Linked DNA regions of Homo sapiens: region 2 is linked to region 1. The links are contacts of gene promoters, found by promoter capture Hi-C in human tissues and cell types (Jung and others, 2019). All regions are on one chromosome and are shown on one strand. Each heading gives the region's core, a stretch centred on a gene start or on the middle of the fragment in contact. The rest is flanking DNA. Distances are from core to core; before and after follow the strand shown. Region 1 holds the start of VASH1 (vasohibin 1). Region 2 has its middle 79 kb from the start of VASH1.

Evidence for each region. The method cuts DNA at HindIII sites, captures the fragments that hold promoters and counts their contacts. A contact is called where the count stands out against the background at its distance.
Region 2: a fragment that was not itself captured here is called in contact with the fragment with the promoter of VASH1 in region 1 in 3 of the 25 tissues and cell types used here (H1 embryonic stem cells, lymphoblastoid cells and mesenchymal stem cells).

What each region holds. Positions count from the first base shown.
Region 1 is chr14:76,756,382-76,764,093 of GRCh38, forward strand. VASH1 (vasohibin 1) reads left to right here and starts at 5,087. Exons shown (of 7, transcript NM_014909.5): 1 at 5,087-6,749. The coding sequence starts at 6,441. RefSeq lists silencers at 5,054-5,243, 5,344-5,613. The HindIII fragment of the contact is 11,814 bases long and covers 1,167-7,712 here.
Region 2 is chr14:76,678,947-76,686,658 of GRCh38, forward strand. No RefSeq gene overlaps it. Among named protein-coding and RNA genes, the nearest start is that of VASH1, 79 kb to the right of the region's middle. The HindIII fragment of the contact is 4,823 bases long and covers 1,053-5,875 here.

The DNA of each region.
Region 1 (7,712 bases), core at 3,837-6,336:
AAACTCTGCAGGTAAAGCACCGGACCTACACTCGGGGCTCAGTGAAGAGGAGCTATTTTTATAGACTTTCACTCACTTGGCTGAGTAATTCAGTTCCAGAAACAAAACGGACAGTTTGAGAAAGCAGTGATTTAAAATGAATCCCAAGCCAGAGGTCCTTTTGGCACTTTACCTGAAGTGAACTGGATTCTGTTTGGATTAAGGAAAAACAGACTTGTTCTCTAAGAATTTAGCAGTCAATTCAGACAGATGCCAAATCCATGAAAAACTCTCTGATTTTGTCACGCAAACCCCAGAGCGGAAGTCAGACCCAGGCAGATTCAGGTTTTCAGGTGACCTGAAGCAAATCGTTTCACTGGCCAGTCTAGATCTCAGTGGTTCCAAGCCCAGCTACCATTCGCATTACCTGGAGATCTTTTCTAGACTATGGGTACCAAGCCCCACTCCAAACCAGTTTCATCAGGATTTCTGCAGGGTGCAGACTGAGGATCAAGAATTTTAAGAGCCCCTGGGGTGATCCTAATGTAAGCTCCACTGGACCAGAAGTGCTCCAAGATCCTCGCCAGGTATCCCTGGTGCCTACAACCATGTATGATTCAGAGTAGATATTTAGTATATGTTTATTGAGTAAATGAATGAAGATTCTGACTCAACTTTTTGCTGTTTTCATGTTCATAATTTATGAGGTAAAAGAAGAAAAGAAAAGGAGTTTAATCCCAAGAAAGAATCACAGAGCAGAGCTGTCCAATAGAAATTTCTGCAATGGGCCAGGCGCAGTGGCTCACGCCTGTAATCCCAGCACTTTGGGAGGTTGAGGGGGGTGAATCACGAGGTCAGGAGTTCAAGACCAGCCTGGCCAATATGGTAAAATCCTGTCTGTACTAAAAATTACAAAAAATTAGCTGGGCACAGTGGCAAGCGCCTGTAATCCCAGCTACTGGGGAGGCTGAGGCAGGAGAATTGCTTGAACTCAAGCGGCAGGGGTTGCAGTGAGCCGAGATTGCATCACTGCACCACAGCCTAGGCGACAGGGTGAGACTCCATCTCAAAAAAAAAAAAAAAGAAAAGAAAAAGAAAAGAAATTTCTGCAGTGATGGACATGTTCTATAATCTGTACTATTCATTACAGTATCTATGAGCCATAATGGCTACTGAGTACTTGAAATATGGCTAGCGTGATTGGAGAAACTGAACTTTTAATTCTATTTAATGTTAATTAAATTCAAATTTAAATAGACACATATGACTTCTGGCTACCATACTGAACTTCTGGCTACCATTGCAGAAATTTCTTTTCTTTTTTTTTTTGAGATGGAGTCTCACCCTATCACCTAGGCTGTGGTGCAGTGATGCAATCTCGGCTCACTGCAACCCCTGCCACTTGAGTTCAAGCAATTCTCCTGCCTCAGCCTCCCCAGTAGCTGGGATTACAGGTGCTTGCCACTGCGCCCAGCTATTTTTTTGTAGTTTTTAGTACAGACAGGATTTTGCCATATTGGCCAGGCTGGTCTTGAACTCCTGACCTCGTGATTCACCCCCCTCAGCCTCCCAAAGTGCTGGGATTACAGGCATGAGCCACTGCGCCTGGCCCATTGCAGAAATTTCTATTGGACAGTTCTGCTCTGTGATTCTTTCTTGGGATTAAACTCCTTTTCTTTTCTTCTTTTACCTCATAAATTATGAACATGAAAACAGCAAAAAGTTGAGTCAGAACATCTACCTTTTATAAACACATCTATACCTGTGTGCCTCCATGCCCCTCTTTTACTAACAGCACCCCATTTACCTTTAGGGCAGTCCTTCTCCCCCAACCACCTGTAGTCTTGGCTAATGAAATTGCCCCATCCTCCTCTAGCCAAGGATCCAAGCTAAGTCAACAGACTCTTCTCTCTGGAAATTTCACTCTAGCTTCTGTGTCACAAGAATAGAAAATGTGTCAGAGCAGATTAATATGAGTGTTGATGCCCTAAGACAACATGCGTTCATTTGCAGACCATTAGTCCAGAGTGTGACGATAACAAATGTGACACATGATATGAGTTAGGCGTCATTATCGTCATCCTTGTCATCATGAAAGTGACTTGTACCCAGCAGCTCAGATGTGCCTGCTCCTGTACTAGGTATGTAATTTGCCTAGCTTCTCTTATGCATCCTTTCTTCATCTGTAAAATGGAAATCATACTCATCCTAACTCTTCCACGGTTTTTGTGAAGACAGCAAAAGGAATAATTGTCATGAGGGCCGGGCGCGGTGGCTCACGCCTGTAAGCCCAGCAATTTGGGAGGCCGAAGCAGACAGATCACTTGAGGTCAGGAGTTGGAGACCAGCCTGGCCAACATGGTGAAACCCCATCTCTACTAAAAATACAAAAATTAGACAGACATGGTGGCAGGCACCTATAATTCCAGCTACTCAGGAAACTGAGGCAGAGAATCACTTGAACCTGGGAGGCAGAGGCTGCAGTGAGCAGAGATCGAGCCACTGCACTCCAGCCTGGGTGACAGACCGAGACTCTGTCTCAGGGGAAAAAAAAAAAAAAGAAAAAAAAGAAAAATAACGGTCACGAAAGCTTTGAGCCAAATAAGGAGTTACCCAAGTGTCTGTTGGAGGAGTTGTTCCCAAGGCATAGGTGTGGGGAGTCATGGGAGGGCTTGATGAAGGACCCAGGATCTGAGACCAATTCAAAAGTTGTGCCATACCAGGTTAAGTCACTTGTTCTCTCTGGGCTTTTGGCTTAGATAAGACTGGGTTATACACATCTCTTTCCAGTTTCACCATTTTCTAATCTATTTGCAAGCCCCCTTGCCTGACACATACCCTCTTCCACTTCTATGCACACATGCCAGAAAATTCTCTAGCCTAGTCCATGCTGACCTTGTACCCAACTCATTTCTTCTTTTCCCAGCTCCTCACCTGATTGGGAAGTTGCTCTGGGTATGCACTCCCACAGCTTCCTGAATAACCCTCTGGCAGAGCACCTTATGGAAATCATGCTTAACTATCTCCTCCACTAGTAGGCCATAAGTCCAACTAGAGCAAAGGCCATGTCCCTCTTGTTCACTACTGCTTCTCCAGTGCCCAGTACAGAGTCAAACACATAGAAGATGTTCTATGAGTACTTACTCTTTGAATGAATACCCTACATCTATTTTATTTGTCATTTCAGAAAACACATGGTATTATCTCATGCTGCGTAACAAGTTAGTCCAAAACTTAGCAGCTTAAAACGAGAATAGTCACTTATCCTCTCTCAATTTCTGTGGGACAGAAAGTCAGACAGGGCACAGCAGGGCTGGTTGTTCTCTGCTCCATGTCTGGGACCTCAACTCTAAGACTTAAAGGCCGAGGGCTGGCAAGACCTGAAGTCTCGGTTTGCCATGATCTGGTGATTGACTCTGGCTGTTGGCTGAGAGCCCAGCAGCAGCTGTCAGCGAGAACACCCTCATGTGGCCTCACCATGTGGCTTGGGCTTCTTCACAACATGGTAGCTGGTTTCTTCTGAGGAACCAAGAAGAAGCTGTCTCCTTTTTATGGCCTGGTCTTAAGAGTCATACAGCTTCACTTTCATCACACTTTATTCATTAGACACCAGTCACCAAGTACATCCCACATTCAGGGGGAAAGGAATTAGATCCCATCTTTTGAAAAGAATGGTCAAGAGCTTGCAAGCCAATTTTAAAACCAGCACCACTTGGCTAACACAAGAAGCAATGTATAGAGTGAAAAACAAGTGTCTGAAGAAGTAAGACTTCTGTTCACATTCTAGCTCTGCCACTTACTAGCTGTGTGAGTTTGGGGAAATTACCCTCTGAGACTTGGTTTATACAATACAGGGTGATAGTTGTTGATCCCTAGTGATTTTTCTACGCTTGGAGTCTTCTTGCCTTAGTGAGTTTAAGAAGATCCAGGCTGAACTAACTTTCTTGGAGTCTTGCAATCCTTCCCATCACTGATAACCCTTGGTTTCTGACCCTGGAGGTAGTAAGAGGTTGCTACGGGAGCACAGGGTACCCAGAAAGTTCAGATACTAGGGACAGCTTTAGAGAACAGATGTGAAACCACTGAGGCCCTGGGGTCTCTCTAAGGCCTTTAACCCAGCCCTTGTGTAGTAACCTCAGCTTGTCAAGAAATGCAACGACCCCACAACTAAGGAATCTGAATCTGCCGGCTAAGGCCAAGGAATCTGCATTCTCCCACAAGACTGTGATTCATGCTAACTACAGGCAGGGGAGAGGGGGAGCATCTTAAAGCACACACTCGGCCGTCTCTTCCTAAAGTTCTTGGCTTCAGCCTAGAGATAGTGCCTTTCCCACCATTTACAACTCTATGGCATGAGGGAGGCGGAGGGTGCGTCCAGTGTCCAACCACGCACCACAGCTGGTTGTACTTTCACCTTCCTCTAGGCCAGCGGACCCTCCCCAAGCATTGCCTCCCACGCCCACGTCGCGGTCCCACCCTGGTCCGCGGGGTCCAGAGCGTCCAAAGCCCGGTCTAGGCAGATGGTCTAGGGGTGAGCTCTGCGCACCCCATTCCCACCAGTGCAGGCAATCGAATAAAACAGGGTGACTTTTAACCCTTTTCGTTTCCAGAGATAGTGACCCCCCGTCTCAATCCCTAGATGTCCTCCTCTAAGAACTGTGCGCGCTGGGAGGGACTCTGCGCTCACTCACTGTGACCACCTCGGCTGGGATATGGGGAAACTGAGGCCTACAGAGGGAAGGGAACTGCTGAACGTCCCAAAGCAACACAGGCACTGAATCCGGTCTAGAATCCCAGTCTTCCAGGCCAGTGCTCTCGGTCCTACCGGCTCAGGGCCCCTGCGAAGAATCTTTTTCAAGAAATTCCCGACCGCAGGAATTCCTTCTGCGCTAGGAATCTCCATGGAGTTTGCGCTCCCTCTGGCACGTTGAAAACGTCCTCCGCAGCTTCGCACCGGCTTCGCGGCGCCCTGACAGCTGGGTGAGGAGGGAGCGAATGCCCACCGGCGTCCTTGGGGTAACTTGGGACAGAGGCACCGCCGCGGGGGGCGGAGGACTGGGCGCGAAGGCGCTGGCCCTTTAAGGGGGGGACGGAGCGCATGCGCGGCGCGGGCCGTAGTCGAGCCTGGTGGGCGGCTGGCTGGCAGGGGACGTGGTCGGCGGCAGCGGGGCCCAGGGGCGGCGGGGCTGCAGCAGCGGCGGCCCCAGCTTCGCCGAGCAGCGATCGGCTGGTGGGCTTCTCGTTGGCGGGCTCCGCGTTGGCGGGCTGCTCCCCAGGCACCAGCGCAGCGCGCGCTCGCCCGGCTTCGTCACTCGCCTCCAGCTACATCCGCCGGCCGAGGCTGCGCGAGCCTCCGGGCTTGCGGTCCCCGCCCCGCGGTCCTTCCTCCACCCTCAGCCAGGGCAGCTGCAGCCCGAGCGAACAGCCACGGAGCATCCTCCGCCCGCCCGGGCCGCGCCACCGCCCATGCTGCAGCCAGTCCCAGGCAGCGACCCCGCGGCCGCAGCCCGCCGCTCAGTGACCTCAGCCTGGCCCCTGCGCGCCGCCCGAGCCGGTCCCGCTGAGCCGCGGGCCCCGTGCCCTGCGATGGCTCGGCTGGTGCAGCGCGGCGCCAGGTGCCAGCCGTCCTCCCGCTGAGACGCGCCCGAGTGGGGACCCGCTGGGCCTCGGGGCTCGCAGCCTTCGCCTCCCCGCCGCGCCCGCTCCCTTTCTGGGGACTCCGCCGCTGTTTCTGGGGACGAGGGGACAGGGGACCCAGACAAAGCCCACTTTGTGCAGGGAGTTGGCCGCAGGCGGGGAATGTGCGCGTCGGCGCGCGCCCCCTCCCCGCTCCCGGCCAGCTGCGAGTCTTGGCTCCCGGACTTGTCTCGTCGCGTCGGAGAAATCGCCCCCCAGCGCCGCTCTCCCGCCCGGGGGTCTTGGTTCCGAGCTCGCGCGGCCGGGAGTCGCCTCGGTCTTCCTTGGGGCGCGCGCAGATGTGAGCGTGCGAGAGTTGTGTAGGGGATTTTGTTCCCTCCGAAACTGAGACCCAGGGCGCCCAGTGGGCACCCGTGCCTTGACTCTGTCCTTTCTGCAGCCGCTGGTCCGAGCTGTCTGGCCTCAGTTTCCCTCCGACTTTTCTCCGCTCTGCCAGCCCTCACTGCTGCCCGTCATTGTTCTCGCAGTTAGATGGGGGTGCTTTGTGACGGCTGCCAAGTTGGGGTGTGTTCTCTTTATTCCGTTTTTCAAACAGAACAAGGCCTCCAAGGCTGACCCCAGACAACCCACCCCCTCGGACCCTAATTCACCTTATTGCACTGATTTTTTTTATCAAGTCGTATTTTATTGTACAGGAGCCACGCCCTGATTTCTTAAAGGCGCCTTGCACTCTGGCCATGTGTTATCTCTGCAGCCGGTGTGTGGGAGGCCTCTTGTGAGCCAGTTGTTTTCCCGCCTCCACCACCCCCCTCGAAGATTTAGGGATGCCAGGGGGGAAGAAGGTGGCTGGGGGTGGCAGCAGCGGTGCCACTCCAACGTCCGCTGCGGCCACCGCCCCCTCTGGGGTCAGGCGTTTGGAGACCAGCGAAGGAACCTCAGCCCAGAGAGATGAGGAGCCAGAAGAGGAAGGGGAAGAGGACCTGCGAGACGGAGGCGTCCCCTTCTTTGTCAACCGGGGTGGGCTACCTGTGGATGAGGCCACCTGGGAAAGGATGTGGAAACACGTGGCCAAGATCCACCCCGATGGAGAGAAGGTGGCGCAACGGATCCGTGGGGCCACAGACCTGCCCAAGGTGAGACACACGGGTCAGGGGGGTGATAGCACAGTCTAGGTTTTAGTGACCTTGGGGCCAAGAGTGAAGCCACACTCTCCTCCCACGGGGCAGGGGACCACTGGCTCGGTAAGATCTTTAAAATGCAGTGATATCATACCTGTCTAGGAGAACTTTCTCTCACTGCCATTCTAGGAGGGAGGCTCACATACATTGTCTCCAGGAGGCCCTCCCCGCTGTCTTTTAAAATGTCCACGTTTTACAGGAGGGGACAGCAGCAGATGGAACTAACAAACACAGTAGGATGGCTTGACGTCTCATTTGCTTGATGACACTTGCCAAGCCAGAGAACTGTGAGCAGACAAATGTAATGAATGACTAAGGAGATGCAGGGCTTCATATGTTGAGAAAATATTTTCGTGCATTATGTCATTGAATTCTCCCAACAGCCTTGTGACGTAAGTACAGTTTGGATTCCCATTTTACAGATGAGAAAGCTGAAAACTCAAGTAGGAACTCAAGATCCCACAGCCAGTAAGTGGCAGAACTGAGATTCAATTTCAGGTCTTCAGGAGAAGGGCGGGGGGTGGTGGTGGAGGGAAGTGTCCAGGTCCTCTTCTCTGTTGGACAGTAGATTCAAGCACATTAGAAGAGGTCTTATGGAGAAGCATAAAATGAAATAATTTTTCTGTGTTGGCTGTAACTCCTCCTCCATGACAGCTATACTTCAGTTGTGTCACCAACGAAAACAGAGGCTGTATCTCATTCATCTTTGTCTTCCCAAGGCCTCCTGTGTGCCTGGCACAGAACAGGCACTAGTGTGTGTGTTTGCTGAATGAAAGGGTATTTGAGAGTTTCTGTGCTGTACGCTGCTATATGGAAATACATGCCAGATATTAAAAAAAAAAAAAACATGATCAAGACTAGGAGGCACTTTGCCAAATGCAGAGGCCTGAAATCTCCAAAAAAGAGCCCTTTGGACTG
Region 2 (7,712 bases), core at 2,214-4,713, 79 kb before region 1:
CTGTACACTCTCCCCACTCATCCCCTCCAATCTCCTTTCCTCAGCCTTTGTATGCATGCATGCAGGTGTATACACACACACGTGCACACACACACACACGTGCACACACACACACACACCAGAAAACTCTGAATTTAAGAAAATATTATGATAAAAACAAGAGTTGAGGCCATGCATGGTGGCTCACACCTGTAATCCCAGCACTTTGGGAGGCCAAGGTGGGTGGATCACTTGAGGTCAGGAGTTAGAGACCAGCCTGACCAACATGGTGAAACCCCATCTCTACTAAAAATATAAAATTAGCTGGGTGTGGTGGTGGAGGCCTGTAATCCTAATGTTAGAGGTGTTCGAACCACAGCGACTCCATCTTGAGTGAGGGCTAGGAAAATGAGACTGGGACTTGCTGGGCCGCATTCCCAGAAAGTTAGGTATTCCTAAACTCTAGATGCTTACAGTTAAAGGAACAAATTGATCATGTTTACTAAACAGACTCAGACTTGAGAGTATCCTAATATCCTGATACCTTGGGAACAAAGACATTCCTAATTTTGCTTTAAAGATAATATGATAATATCGATTCTTGCAAAATATTGTCATTAAGAAAATTAATCCTCTATCACAAACCCTTGTAGCAGAGCACATCTCCCCAGGATCTTTTTTATCCTATATATACAAGCATTGTACCTAGGGTGGACGTGTTCCTCCTCTTACTTTCGGGAATGCCCTACTCTAGCTGTTCTTTTCTCAGAGGTGTGTGAACCAGAGCAACTCCATCTTGAATAGGAGCTGGGTAAAATAAGGCTGAAACCTATTGGGCTGCATTCCCAGATGGGTAAGGCATTCTAAGTCACAGGATGAGATAGGAGGTCAACACAAAATAGAGGTCCATACAGACCTTGCTGATAATACAGTTTGCAGTAAAGGAGCCGGCCAAAACCCACCAAACCAAAATGGCCACGAGAGTGACCTCTGTATGTCCTCACTGCTACACTCCCATCAGCACCATGACAGTTTACAAACGCCATGGCAACATCAGGAAGTTACCTTGTATTGTCTAAAAAGCGGAGGCATGAACAATCCACCCCTTGTTTAGCATATCACCAAGAAATAATCATAAAAATGGGCAACCAGCAGCCCTCGGGGCTGCTCTGTCTATGGAGTAGCCATTCTTTTATTCCTTTACTTTCTTAATAAACTTGCTTTCACTTTGCACTGCAGACTCACCCTGAATTCTTTCTTGTGCGAGATCCAAGAACCCTTTCTTGGGATGTAGATTGGGACTCCTTTCCTGTAACACTTTCACCATTTTACTTTCTTAATAAACTCACTTTTGCTTTGCACTGTGGACTCGCCCTGAATTCTTTCTTGTGCGTGATTGAAGAACCCTCTCTTGTGGTCTGGATTGAGACCCCTTTCCTGTAATATCAGCTATTCCGGAGGCTGAGGCACGACAATCTCCTGAACCTGGGAGGCAGAGGCTGCAGTAAGCTGAAACCGCACCACTGCACTCCATCTTGGGTAACAGAGGGAAACTCCATCTCAAAAAAAAAAAACAAAAACCAAGATTTGGAAAATTACTAGACTGTAATATAAGACAAATCTGAAAAGAAAATAAGCTGTGTATATGCATGTGCATGAGGATATGTATGGTTTACTACTTTTCAGCAACAATTAATCCCCTCATCACCCTAAAAGAAATCTTTATTAGCACATACTATTAACCAGACCATGTGCTAAGTGCCAAGGATACTAAGATAGATAAGAAAATTGTTAGACATGAGTTCTAAATTTCTCTTCAAAGAATCAATGTCAGTATGTTCAATTCTTTGCCTTCTACTTTTAAACTTAACTTCCTCGTAAAGCAACCTTTTCAATCACCTGCTCCACCCTGACTCATTCTGATTACCTGCTCATTCTCCACCCTGACTCATTCCGATTTCCTGCTCTGCCATAATCATTTTTCCTGCCAAACCACTCACCCCGTCACTCTCTTTAAATTAGCCAATCGAAATTAGTTTAGCCTATGCGGTCTAACCCTAACCAACAGGGGAATGACACAGCAGCAGGGGCCACGTGTGTCAGGAATAAGACCCCCCTTCCCCTCCCTTGTTCGGGTGTGCACTCACCACTGCTCCATCTGTGAGGGCACACCCTTCTATAGAAGTAATTTGCCTTGCTGAGAAGAAAAAAAGAAAATTTTATATTCAAGTGCTATTTCTTTTGCAGCACCAAAACTTTATTTATAACAAAAGCAATTCTTGTCTTCAAGGATCTCGCCATTTAGGTGGGAACACCAACAAATATACAGTGATGGATAATTTGCTACAAGTTTTAAAAGAGGTGAATCTGTGGGAACATAAATAAAAGGCGTACCCACCTGTTCCTATGGAAAGTCAGTTTTGTGAAAGCTTCATAGGGGAAATGTCCCATAGACTAAATATTTCTTAAAACTTTTAAATTATGCAATGTATCATACAGAAAATAATATAAATGATGTATACGTACCATTTAAAAATAGTAAACACCTGTGAACCCACCACCCAGCCTAAGAAATAGAACAGCTTCCACATCTTTGAAGTACCTCTCTGACCTCAAATGTTTTGTTTTTCATTCGTTTTTACTTTTAATTTTCTTCCTGTATATGTGTCACTAAGCTATTAATACATACTTTTTTGGTTTGTCTGGTTTTGAATTTTATGTAAATGGGACAATACAGTATTATTATTCTAAGACATGATTTTTTTACTTGACCATATGTTTTTGAGAATGATCTCTGTTCATATACACAGTTACAGTTTATTAGTTTTTAGTGGTATGTAGTTTTCTGTTGTATGAACATATCCTAACGTATAGAGCTATTTTACCATTGATAACTATTCCATTCTTTTCCATTTTTGTTATTATAAACTAAGACACAATGAAAATTCTTCTATAAGACTCCTGGTAAATATGTCTCCTGCAAGAGGAACTCTTGGATTGTTGCTGAATGCAATTGGCTTGAATATTGATTTTGTGTCCATTAACTGTGCTAAATACTCTTATTAATTCTAAATTTGTATCTGTAAAAAGTTTGGTATTTTTTATAGACATCTGTATCATTTGAAAATGGTGGTAACTTTTTTTCAAATTTTATATACATGTTTTTCTTATCTTACCACAATTATTAAGACTTCTAATATGATATTGTATGTAAGTGATGGTAACTAACATTTACATCTAATTCCTGACCTTAAACAGAATGCTTTCAACATTTTACCACTAAGTATGCTTTGTACTTTTCTGAAAATATATAATTAATTTCCCTCTGTTAGGTTAAAGATGATTCCTTCTATCCATCATTTGCTAAAAGTTTTTTATCATGATCTAATTTTTAATATTGCCAACAGTTCTTCACTTAAAAAAATTGTATGTTTATTCCACCTTTAATCTGTTACTATAATGCATTACCTTATTCAGTGGTCTAACATTAAACCAACTTTGCATTCTTACGATAAGCCTAACTGGTCATTATCTGTGTTAATGCATATAGCTAGAATTAGTTTGTATTAAAGTATAGTATTTCAAATTGTCTCAAAGCCTTTTAGTCCTAGCCAGCAGTGCTTTTGCCAATGCAGTTCTCATAAAGACTTTGTGGGTTTCCAGTTTATCTGATTCTGGTCAGCTTCACGCCATAGAGCCACATTTAAAATTCTTTCCTAGATAGCCTCTTGCTAATTTTGGCAAACTAAATCCCTTTTATCTAGTAGAGAGGATCTACTAGGAGCCACCATAAATCTTATCAAGGTCTTATCTAAGGATCCCACAGTTACGCTCTTAATTCTTTACCCTGAGGCCATTACTTACTTTGAAAATAATTTACTGGCTTGAAACACCAGAATTAAGAAGTAGTTTTGGTTTTCAACCCATTACTTTATGACTTCTCTATAGCTACTCTTGTCGCAAACTGAACAATTCTTTCTATAGCTGATCTCTCTCTTCCCATACCTTATCACAGGCAGCTAAAACATTCTAAAACACTTTCAACATTCTTCCGGGAATCACCTTGCCAATGTCCAAGTTTATTAGATTTATTTTCTATTATACAGTTACCATGGGCAACAACAGCTTTGTCAAATGTTACTACTATTCAACACAGATCCTCAATTTCCCAGCCTTCTAGAGCAGTTTCCTCATTACATTCCAGCCTCCACAACTGTTTATTTGCAAATTTTCCAAGCTTTGGAAATAGTTCCCTTGCTGCTTTTCTATCCTCTGTCACTCAGTCCTAAAGACAATGGCTCATGTTTCAGGTTTTTAGTTCAGCAGCACCCCACTTATAGGTGTCAATTTCTCCATCAATCAGCTCATGTTGTATAACAAACCACCTCAAAATTTAGTGGCTTAAAACAACAATCATTTGTTCAGCTCAGAATTTTGTGGATCCATAATCTGGGCTGTATTTAGCCAATAGGTTCATCTGCTGGTGTGGGCTGGGCTCACTCATGCTTCTACAGCCAGCTGCTGGTCAGCTGGATGGCTTGTTTCCAATGCTTACCTGGCTGGCCCTTTGGGCATAGAGACAATTGAGCCCTACATCTATCATTGAAAGACAAGCCAACACAGGCTTCTTCACATGGCAGCCATGGCAAGGGTCTCTAGAACAATAAGAGAGAAAGACTGAATGCACAGGTGCCGTTCACATTTCTGCTTATGTCTTATTTGCTAATGTCCTACTGACAATAAGGATTACAACATGCTTTCTTGATTCATCCCTTTTCTCTCTGTCCATTTATTTTCCTTTTTTCAGCTTTAGAGGTATGATTGACAAAAATTGTATATATTTAAGTAAAATGTTAGTATTAATTATAGTCACTATGCTATATGTTAGGTATCTAGAACTAATTCATCTTATAACTGCAAATTTGCATCTTTTGACCAGCATTTCCCATTTCCCCCACCTCTTTCCTGGAAACCATCATTGTACTCTGTGTCTCTGAGTTCTACTTTTTTATGTATAAGTGAAATCATGCAACGTTTGTCTTCCTGTGCCTAGCTTATTTCATCTAAATGTGATATATTTCATTTAAAATGTGATATATATATGTATATATGTACATGTATATACATATATATATCACATTTTAAAAATCCATTCATCCCTTGATGGATACTTGGTTTGTTTCCATATCTTGGCTATTATAAATAATGCTGCAGTGAACATAGGAGTGCAAATATTTCTTTGATATAGTGATTTTATTTTCCATGAATATATATCCAGAGGTAGAAATACTAGATCATATGATAATTATATTGTTAACTTTTTGAGGAACCTCTGTACTGTTTTCCATATGACTGTACCAATTTACATTCTCACAAGAATGGAGAAGGGTTCCCTTTCCTCCACATCCTCACCAACATTTGTTATCCTTTGACTTTTTAATAGTAGCCATCCTAACAAGTTTGAGGCAGTATCTCCTTGTGGTTTTGATTTGTATTTCCCTGATAATTAGAGACACTGACCACCTTTTTTATGTATCTGTTAGCCATCTGTATGTCATTTTCAGAAAAATATCAAATTGCCCATTTTTTTTAATTTTTCCTTTTTTTTTTTTTTTTTTGAGACAGGGTCTCACTCTGTCACCCAGGCTGAAGTGCAGTGATCCTTCCACCTAAGCCTCCCAAGTAGCTGGGACCACAGGTGTGCACCACTATGCCCAGCTAATTTTTGTGTTTTTGTGGAAACGGGTTTTCACCATGTTTCCCAGGCTGGTCTTTGCCCATTTTAAAATGCAGTTATTTGAGGGTTTTTTCTACTGAGTTGAATAAGTTCTTTATATGTTTTGGATATTAATCCCTTTGCAAATATTTTCTCCCATTATGTGAGCTGTCATGTCACTTCGCTGACTGGTTCTTTTGCTGTGTAGAAACTTTTAGTTCAATGTAGTCCCATTTGTTTATTTTTGTTTTTATTGCCTGCTTTTGGTATCTTATCCAAAAATCATTGCCAAGACCACTGGAGATTTTCTCCTATGTTTTCTTTTAAGGATCTTATATTTTTAGGTCTTAAGTCTATACCTTTAATCTATTTATAGTTGATTTTTGGTGTATGGTGTGAGATAAGGATCTGATTCCATTGTTTTTGGTTTGTTTGGTTTGATTTCTCAAGTGGATATCCAGTTTCCCCAAAGCCATGTATTGAAGAGACTATCCTCTCTCCATTATATATTCTTGCTACCTTTGTCAAAGATTAGTTGATCACATATGCATGTGTTTATTCCTGAACTTTCTATCCTGTTCCATTGATCTATGTGTCTGTTTTTATGCCAGTGCCAAACTGTTTGATTGCTATAGCTTTGCAATATGATTTGAAATCAGAAAGTGTGAAGCCTCCAGCTTTGTTTCTGCTCAAGATTACTTTGGCTATTTGGTGTCTTCTGTGGTTTCATACCAATTTTAAGATTATTTTTTCTATTTCTGTAAAAAAAATGCCATTGGAATTTTGATGAGATTGCATTGAATCTGTACATCACCTCAGTAGTATGAACATTTTGACAATATTGATTCTCCTATGAATTTGTCTGTTATTATTAACTGTTATATTTGTCTCTTCTTGGATAAATGCAAGAACCTCAGAACCTTTTAAATCCATTCCCCCTCCTGATTTATAGGCCATTGTTGTAATATATTTTAATTCCATGTATATTTCAAAATGAGTTAAGTTCTATTATTATGATGTCAATATTTATTTAGATTTACCCACTAGTTATCATTTTCATTGTTCTTTATTCCTTCTGACATCTCAGCTTCTTCTGAAAAAATACCTTTTGCTTTGTTTCAGGTTTTGTGGTAACACATTCTCTGAAGTTTATTTGTTTGTTCTTTAAGTTTTACTGAGCTATAGTTGACTTATAATAAACTGCTAATATGTGGGGGGAGGGGGGAAGGATAGCATTAGGAGTTATACCTAATGCGAAATGATGAGTTAATGGGTGCAGCACACCAACATGGCACATGTACACATATGTAACAAACCTGCATGTTGTGCACATGTACCCTAGAACTTAAAGTGTAATAATAAAATTTAAAAAAAACACATAAAGAGAAAAAAATGAATACTGTTTCACAAATTAAAAAAAAAAATTATAACCTTAACTTGATTTTACCCTAATGCCATACTATATATTCGTATATATAGCACAAGCTAACTGCACCTAAAATATAGGAAGAGTAATATCTAAACTGTTACATGACAAATAAATTTCATTTGTTTACCTAGGTTCCTGTTTGAGAATAATCTATTTTTGCAGAACTGTTGAGGAAGACCAGGCACACTTATATAAAATAGAAAGATTCTTCATTTGGGAGAAAATATGTTTTATCTTTTACTTCTTCAATAAAATTTGTAAAAGACCAGATATTAAATTACTATCTTTCATAAAAAGACAAAAAAAATAAACTGCTAATATGTAAAGAGTTTGATATGTTTTGACACATGTACACATCTGAGAACCTATCACTGCAATCAAGATAATCAACATAGTCATCACCTCCAAAGCTTCCTCATACCCCTTTGTGATCTTTTTCTCCTTTTATTGCTGAGTAGTAGTCTATCATAAATATGCCCCAGGTTTTTTTATCCACTCACACTTGTTTGTGGCCATTTGAATTTTTTCCAATTTTAAGCTATTATAAACAAAGCAGCAGTGAACATTTATGTGCAAATTTTTGAATGC